Regions from separate parts of the Homo sapiens genome. Here region 1 is linked to region 2. The links are contacts of gene promoters, found by promoter capture Hi-C in blood cells and fetal thymus (Javierre and others, 2016). All regions are on one chromosome and are shown on one strand. The core of a region is centred on a gene start or on the middle of the fragment in contact, and the rest is flanking DNA. Distances in the headings are between cores, read along the strand shown. Region 1 holds the start of TOB2 (transducer of ERBB2, 2). Region 2 holds the start of ST13 (ST13 Hsp70 interacting protein).

Region 1 (4,325 bases), core at 822-3,321, 590 kb before region 2:
ATCCCCGACACGAGCTCCATTTTATAGATGGGGAAACTGAGGTTTGGTGATGTCAAGCGTTTTGCTGCATTAAATCAAGATCACACAGTCGGTAGCCGAACTGGGATGTAAACCCACCTATTTACATGGCTGCCTTAATCAATGACTACAAATACCAGCATCCCTTGCCGTGCCCGCTGGCGCAAACGCACACTCCCAAGGGCCCAGTCTTAGCGGCTGGATCCTAAACCCAATCAGACACCGCTTCTCCCTTTCCCCCGACCAATGGGAAGGCTGTTGCTAACACACCGGCTATATTTTTAGCTTTCAGTGCTCTGGGAGCGTGTGGGTCGGCTGAGCCTCTCTGCCTGGTGGGAAGAGCTAGGGGAAAAGAGAGAAGGGAAGGGGAGGGGGAAAGGGAGGGTGCAGCGGGCATGTGCGGGAGGGGGCGTGTGTGTGACGCTGTCACTCGCTGACGCACAAGGCAAGTAGTCCCTGGAGGTGCCCCCGGGGTTGCGACGCTCAGAGTGTGGGGGATGGGGGGGCGCTCAGGCTATCTCCCGCCTCCCTGTCCCGGTGGAGTTTGCCCTCCAGCCCGGCATTTCTCTGTTGCATTCAGGGAAAGTGCATTTAAACCCCCCACGCTACTGGTGCTCTCCGCCCTTGCCAAAAAAAGCGATCAAGGAAAAAAAAAAAGCAAACTGTTCGTAGCTGGAAACTTTCGGATCTCGCCACCCAACGTGGGGATGGCGGCTGCTGCTGGGCCGGAACCGTCTGGAATGACAAAAAAGGTGTGGGCGGGAGGGGAGAACTGGGAAATGGGAGATCTAAGGAGGGACCGGGGAGAAGACCTCACTCACAGTCCCCCGGGGGCTCCAGACTGCATCTTCCGGCACTCCTGTCTGCCTGTGACCGCAGAACACGGCCCTCCCTCCCCCTGGCTCTGTGTCCCGCACACTCACAGAGGCAGAGCAGCCCGCGTGGCCAGAGCCGGGGGAGGGGGCCTCAGCGCGCGGGCCTGGCGCGCCCAGTCCCGGGTTCGCGGAGCCTCGCTCCGCCGCCCGAGGGGCCGTAGTGGGTGCGAGCCTTGCGCCCGTTGCACGGTCAGGGGCCACCCCACGCCGGCGGGACTGCGACTAGAAGAAATGTGGGGCTCTCCCGCGTGCCCCACACTGGGGTCGCTGGCCAGAAAGAGCAAACAAGAGTTGGGAGAGGGGCTGCGCCCGCGCGCCTGCGCAGAGCCAGAGCCGGCCCTCCAGGCTGCAAGGAAAGGAGCGCCAGAGGCGGTGAGGGGAAGGTCCTTTGTGGCACTCGGCTAGTTTCACGGCCGTCAGCCTCGTCCTCGGCTCCTCTTACTCCCGCACAGCGTGGCCCAGGCCCCAGAGTCTCCCTCGCCTTTCTTTCGACGTTGAGCCCCCCGAGGAATCACAAGGCGCTCGGAAGACTCATGCCTGCCCGAAACGGGTCCGAAATGTTTCCAGAGCCCGCGTCGTCCCCTCAGTTCCCCCTCCCGCAGAGGCCGTAACGGGGCGATGCTATCGCCGCGGACACGGCCAGACGCTCGGAGCTGGAGGGAAGGCCCCGGGAAACGGCTCGGGCAAACGTCCGAACCATGGGCTCCGAGGCAGGTGCAGGGCGGACGACTCAGCGGGGGGTTTCCGGCGGGCATGGTGACTCCCTCCCCTCCCCCGCGATACTCGTCCCCCAAACACAACTAAAGGGAGAGTGCACTGTGCCCGGCTCGTGAGCAACCCGGCCCCAGGTGGTCCCCGGCCCTCACGGAGCGCCCCTGGGAGAACACCTCACACGACGCGCACAAGTTCAGAGTGGTATGGGAATGAAGGAAAGGAGTGCGGCGCGGCGCTGTGACAGGGAGGGGAAGACGGGGAGCCGGACGCACGACCGGCGAGCACAGAAGGGCACAGGAGCTGCTCCGCGAGATACCAGCGAGCTGAGGCGCGGGGCTGGCTGGGAAGTAGTCCCGGCCGGGCCCTGGCCCCGCCCCTGCAGGGCGGAGGGACGCATCACGCAGGGGTGGGGAAGCCGGATCCGTGCGCAGGGTTGCTAAGGGTGAAACTTTTCATTGACTTTGCTCACTTCGGGCCGGGGCGCGGGAAGGTGCGGGTTGTTGGCTGAGGCAAGCCGTGGCTCGGGCGACGCGGGGCCAGGAGGGCAGGACCGTCTGCCGGCGACAGCCCATACCGTCTGCCGTTGCGCGACACGAACCACCCTCCGATCCGCCATCCCCGCGTCGTCGCCGCTAGTCCGCCCGCCCGCCCTCGGGCCCCCCGCTGCCGAGCCCGACCTCCTAAGAGCTGAAAGAAATTATTGAGAGTCATAGTCCATAGCCCCCTGCTTCGTCCCCCAACCCTCAACGACGAAAAGGACTTCGGTCCCCTGGCCCGGCGACGCCCGGGAAGGAAAGGAGAGCGACCTCCGCCCCGCGCTCAGGCCACCCTGGAGGGAGAAGCCGCCCCGCGGCCGGTAGAGCGCCCCGCCGCCGCGGAGACCCGAGTGAGTGAGTTGGGGGGCGTGCGGGCGGGGGGCCCGCCCCGAGACCCAGCCGGCCGGACTACCTCTTCCACCCCGCCCCACTCCCGCTTTGCTGGACTCTCCACGTTGCTGCCGCTCCCTCCCCGCCTGGCCAGCATTTTCTTTCCCCATCCAGCTTCCCTCCAGACCCCACTTTCCCCAGCTCCTCTTCTCACGCCATCTGTGCTCCTGGGGTGCCCAAGAGCTCCTTTTTCTCCCAGTTCCAAGAGTGGCCCTCTCCTGGGTGGGGTGCATTTCCTCCCTTCCCCGCCTCCCCCGGTTCTTTATATCCTAGCTACTCGCTAGATCTTCCTTGTTCTCCAAAGAAACATAACTCCCCCCACCGTTAAATAAATCCGAGGAAGGAAGGGGATCCAGGCCTTGTTTTTCTGCTTCTTTTCCCGTGTGCAGGGAAGGGGGGTGGTAATTGTTAATAGACTCTATTTCTGGCTCTGTGGAGCCTGAAGGGTGGAGGGTGGACACCCCCTTTGGCGACGGGACAGGTCAGTGGAGATTGTCCTTGGGCCACTGAGCCAGAGTTCACCGTTTCGGCTGAGCTCTTTATACTCTTAAGTGTTTTAATGGAAAATTGGGCAGAAAAAAGTACCCTTAGAGCAGTGCCAGTGAGTGGATTCTGCTTATCTTGGTAAGGTGCCTGCGAGGTGGGGCCCTACCCCCAAACTCCTTCCCCTCCTGTCCGGAGGATGAACTGTGCCCTTGACCACCAGAAATCTGGGAGGGGAAGGAGGGTGCAGAGAGGAGGCACAGCCGGCAGGCCCTCTCCCTCCCCCAGGAGAAACCAGAACCCCGCACAGCAAGCTTCAGCTTGGGGACGGGTGGAGGCCAGTCTCTGGTGCTACTCCGTATCTAAACGGTCTTTTTCTCCTTCTTACCCACCGTACCCTGGGAATGGGTCCTTCATCTCTGATTTTCCGGCAGAAAAACAATCCTATTGCTTTCTTGGGCTTCTACCCCCATCCCTCCGTGAAGCATAGGGGGAAAGAAGCTTGTGTGGGAGGAAGGATTAAGGAGGTTTAACACCCAGCGGGGGAGCTTGCCGAGGATCTGGTAAGTCTGGTCGTAAAGCAGACCTTGCAATGGGAGGAGACACACAGAATTTTAGTATGAGAAGATGCTCAGGTGTCAGGTGTACAGTTTTTTTCTTCTCTGCCTGGGAACCTTTTCCTATTTCCCTCTCCCGGATCTGGTTACTCAGTCTTCGATTAGAAATGGGGTGAGGCTTGGGCCCTGCTGGCCTTGGCCTGGCGCCTCCCCACAGCTTGACTGGAAATTTCTTTGGCCGAGAGGACGGGAGAACTGGGTTTGATTCCTGCCTTTCCTTTCCTGGCTGTTTGGGGTGCTGGAGCCGAGTCCGCTAGGCATTAAGTGAAAAAGATCCGTTTCCCTTTGAATCCACCGTCCATCCAGCAACCCCACACGGACCGCCCAGGCCCTGGAATTCAGATTGGGTGGGGGGAAGGGGGTCGTGACCTTATCTAAGCCAGCCCACCCCCTTCACCCAGAAAAAACTCATTAGAAGCAGATCCTAGTTTCATCAGTAATGGGAGGCGATGAAGGGAAAGGTGGGAAAGTTAGGCTCTCGTAAAGCCTAGAGGATGTGGTGGGGCCATACAATACGGGGAGTAGGCCTTTTGGGTAGAATCTACATGAAATGTATTAGGCGATGGGAGGGGGGCGCCGACCCGCCTCAGCGCGCATGTGCATCGGAAACTTTTCCTGGGCTCTTCGACCCTCGGTCGGCTCCCCTTACCGGGCATGCGTATTGCGGCCAGTTGGGCCTTCGCAAAGTGCTC
Region 2 (4,195 bases), core at 1,170-3,669:
AGGGCTGGGTGCAGTGGCTCACACTTATAATCGCAACACTTTGAGAAGCTGAGGTGAGAGTTCAAGTTTACTTTGGGCAACATGGCAAGACCCCATCTCCAAAAAAAGAATTAAACTATTATGTACATTATGAAAGGCAGCATTCCCCAAAAGTATTTGATCACAGAATCATTTTCGTGTAATGCCTACTATTTTGTTTGAGAACATCTTTCAAAAAATCTTTTCCTAAGCCGGGCGCGGTGGCTCACGCCTGTAATCCCAGCACTTTGGGAGGCCGAGGCGGGTGGATCACGAGGTCAGGGGTTCAAAACCAGCCTGGCCAAGATGGTGAAACCCCATCTCTACTAAAAACACATAAATTAGCCAGGCGTGGTGGCGGGCGCCTGTAATCCCAGCTACTCGGGAGGCTGAGACAGGAGAATCGCTTGAACTCGGGAGGTGGAGGTTGCAGTAAGGCAAGAGATCGCGCCACTGCACTCCAGCCTGGGCGACAAGAGCAAGACTCTGTCTCAAAAAAAAAAAAAAAAAAAAAAAAGCTTCTCCAGCCATACTAAACGATTGCAACGCTTAGTGCTGGCCACTCCGTTTTAGAGTTCTGTGCCTTTGCAAGTGTTCCTTCTGGTAGTATGGCTCCTTTAGTCAGGCTGGGGAGAGCCTTTCAAATAAAAGCAAATTCCAGGCCTGGGGCGGTGGCTCAGAGAGGAGGGTGGATCGCTTGAGGCCAGGAGTTCGAGATCAGCTTGGCCAACGTGGCAAAACCTGGTTTCTACTACAATTACAAAAATTAGCCAGGCGTGGTGGCACACGCCTATAATCCCAGCTACCTCGGGAGGCTGAGGCACGAGAATTGCTTGAACTCAGGAGGCAGAGGTTGCAAATGAGCAGAGATTGCCACTGCACTCCAGTCTGAGCAACAGAATGAGAGCCTGTCTCAAAAAAAGACTGAAAAATTGCACATCTTTCTTTTCACCTAATCCCACGGAGAGTTGTCTTTCTGCAGCTTTACTATGAGAACTGAAGAACAAGTTCTGTGCACTGGACAATAACTTTTTATTTTTTATAGTAAGAAGTCGATGTAATTAACATTCCATTTTAAATGAATTCAAGTATATCAACATAAACATATGCCAAGACATAGCTTTGATGTCAAATACCATACGTTCTGGTTCACACATTGTTCATATATTGACCCAAAAAACTGAAATACGATCCAATGGCAGATCCGCCTGCAAGGAAGGTGATTCAGTTTTCACTGATTAAGCTTTATGTTCATCAGATTAATTGCTCGCAATAGAGGACACCCTACAAAAAATTATTCTCCTTATCCTTCGTCTTGTCTTTGCAAACAGGACTTTCAGACACAGAACGCCCCAGAAGTATTTCGAAACAGTTACCTCTCCTAAGAGGAGCTGCTGAAAGAATTTGTTACTAAACATGCTTCGTGTATATTCTGGAGCAAGCTCTCACGCCTAACAGAAACAAGAGCTACTTGATGTGAGACACTTTGTCACTTAAGTGTGATAATTGCCACAACTTCGGAGTCCGAGTAACTTGGAAGACAGCCCCTCTGGGGGATGGCACACTTTTCTCTCTGCAGTCATTTCGGCTTCACAAAATACCTCAACGGTAGAGAACACACTGGGCCCACCCCTTTCCAGGAGCAGCCGGTATAGAAGAAATCCGCGGAGCACAGAGGGTTGGGGAGCGGAGGCCCCACCAGGAGAAGGGTCAGCCGAACCAGGGATCGCCTGAGACCAACTTGGGTCCCTCCAGGGGACACCATGGGAGGAGACCGTGGGAGAAGAGTCTAACCTGAGAGGCCGCGGACGTTTGCTACAGCGGGAACCAGCTTGGGGGCTGAGAGCAGCCAAGGCATTACGGCCTAACTCACGCGTCGGGAAGAGAAAGAGGGTAACGACGGGGAACGCAACCGCCTGCAGGGCCGCGTCGCCAGGAAACCGGGCCAGCCGCACCTCCCCTTCCGGCGGAGGCGGCTCGCGGGCCTTCCTTGCGCGGCGGCGCAGGTTGTGACGTCATGCCCCGAGCTGGGACCGACCCTCCGGCTCCACGCCCTTTTTTTTTTTTTTTTTTAGGTCCCGGGCGTTGAGCTCTACTCAGTGCACGCAGCCACACAATATGCTCTTGGACGTCGCCCCCTGGAGGGGATGTTATCTCCCGCCTCCTTGAAGTCGCCCATTTCTGGGGTTGCCCCATCCAGGGAGCTGGTTCCTAGTTAAGAATATGAGAATGTATGCGCAGGGAGGCAGGCAACAGCACGAACAGCCACGCTTCTAGAAGATTCTAGGGAGCGCGCAGGAGCAGCGCAGAGGGAGTAGGAATGAGCAGGCGGAGGACCCGAGGTCACGAGACCGTTGGGTGGGAGGAGCCAGCGGCCGGGGAGGTTCTAGTCTGTTCTGTCTTGCGGCAGCCGCCCCCTTCTGCGCGGTCACGCCGAGCCAGCGCCTGGGCCTGGAACCGGGCCGTAGCCCCCCCAGTTTCGCCCACCACCTCCCTACCATGGACCCCCGCAAAGTGAACGAGCTTCGGGCCTTTGTGAAAATGTGTAAGCAGGATCCGAGCGTTCTGCACACCGAGGAAATGCGCTTCCTGAGGGAGTGGGTGGAGAGGTGAGACCCAGGCCTGAGGACCGTTGGGGGCGGGGGAAGCACGGCCCCAGGGGGGAGCCAGGCTGGACCTGGCTCGGTCCGGCGGGCGAGGCGGGGTCGCTGCCCCTTCTTTGCCCGGGAAAGGGAGGCAACTTCGAGGGGTCATGGAAGATCGCGAGCCTTGGGTAGTACAGGAGCCGCGGGGAGCAGGAGGCAGAGCTGGGTTCCTCGCACCCTGAGGTTGCCCAGGGGTGTATCTTGGGCGAAATACAAAAACAGGACTGCGGATGCGTGGACACTGGAGACGCGAGGAGTGAAAACTGCAAGACTTAGATTTTGCGTGGGGTTGTTTTTCTTTCAGTCTTGTGTGCCCTGCTCAGGTCTCATTGGTACATAGCAGTTCCTTTACGCACTATTCCTTTACGTCGTGTTATAATAATATAACACTAGTAAGTTAAAAGTTACAAAACTAGTAAGAATAAAAATGATAACTGTAAAAATGATTGTTTTTACCTTACAGCGTTTGTAGCTGCGTAGGATTAATTATCTTGAGAATCACTTATTATACCTCCGTTACTTGGCAGTGTTATCACTCCAAACACGTCTGAGAAAAATAATTTCTTAAGGCCTGGCATGTTTCCAGGATATAATCTTGTTGTCTTTAACTGTAGAGTACTTCGCTACGTGCAAGGAGTTAATTGACAAGGCATTGTGCCTGGTGCTAGGAAACAGTATAAGTACTGTCTATTTAGACGAATAAATAGAAAAGTTCGTTTTGATATTTACTATATAATAGTAATTAGCATTTTATGTGTTGAAGGAGCACCGAAGAGAAAAAGTGACAGGGAAGTCTTCCCTAAGATGACTTTTTAAAAAATTATTACTAATGGGGAACTGAAAAGATGACATACAAATTGCACTAAACAGGGATAAATAGCAACTATGCAGACCATTGCGACTCCTAAGAGGTGCTGCTGTGAACGTTATGTGTTTAGTGACTTTTGTCTTTTAGAGACAGGGTTTGGCTGTATTGTCCAGGCCGCATACAGTGGCGGGATCACTGCAGCCTCCAATTCCTGGGCACAAGCGATCCTCCTGCATCAGTCTCCCAGGTGGCTAGCAGTGCGGGATCGAGCCACCATACTTGGCTAATTTAATTTTTTTGTAGAGATGGGGGTCCCATTAAGTTGCCCAGGCTTGTCTTGAACTCCTGGCCTCAAGGGACTCCCCCGCCTCCCAAAGTGGTGGTATTACAGGCGTGAGCCACTTCACCCAGCGTGATATTTTTGTGTGGGAAGATGAGCTCATGATTACCAAATAGCTCAAAGAATATTTCTTAACAACAATCTGGTTCTAAGGAAAAAACTCGTTACAATCTGTCAGCGTTGTATGTTGTATTTTTTTCCTCTAAGAAGTTTTTCAATTTTTAGCTCCCCACCAATTGTCTAACTACTGGAAGACTTACTTATATGTGAAATTCTGAGACCATTTAATATTACTATGTTAATAGTAACTTTATGAATATTGGTAAGAAGTCTATTTTGCAAACTCCTCAACCGGGAAATGTCAGGATTAGGAATTGAGGGCTA

Evidence for each region. The method cuts DNA at HindIII sites, captures the fragments that hold promoters and counts their contacts. A CHiCAGO score of 5 or more calls a contact.
Region 1: the fragment with the promoter of TOB2 here is called in contact with the fragment with the promoter of ST13 in region 2 in 1 of 17 cell types (fetal thymus); the score reaches 7.6 in fetal thymus.

Annotation. Positions count from the first base shown.
Region 1 is chr22:41,444,547-41,448,871 of GRCh38, reverse strand. TOB2 (transducer of ERBB2, 2) reads left to right here and starts at 2,071. Exons shown (of 2, transcript NM_016272.4): 1 at 2,071-2,493. It overlaps LOC105373043 (a long non-coding RNA gene), which reads right to left and starts at 1,927. Exons shown (of 2, transcript XR_938274.2): 1 at 840-1,927; 2 at 1-753. RefSeq lists a silencer at 940-1,039 and enhancers at 910-1,605, 1,610-1,859, 1,606-2,301. The HindIII fragment of the contact is 7,856 bases long and covers 1-3,332 here.
Region 2 is chr22:40,854,863-40,859,057 of GRCh38, reverse strand. It overlaps ST13 (ST13 Hsp70 interacting protein), which reads left to right and starts at 2,419. Exons shown (of 12, transcript NM_003932.5): 1 at 2,419-2,627. The coding sequence starts at 2,518. It overlaps XPNPEP3 (X-prolyl aminopeptidase 3), which reads right to left and starts at 1,910. Exons shown (of 10, transcript NM_022098.4): 1 at 1,813-1,910. The coding sequence starts at 1,876. RefSeq lists enhancers at 1,605-2,064, 2,075-2,294, 1,922-2,691. The HindIII fragment of the contact is 3,469 bases long and covers 1,264-4,195 here.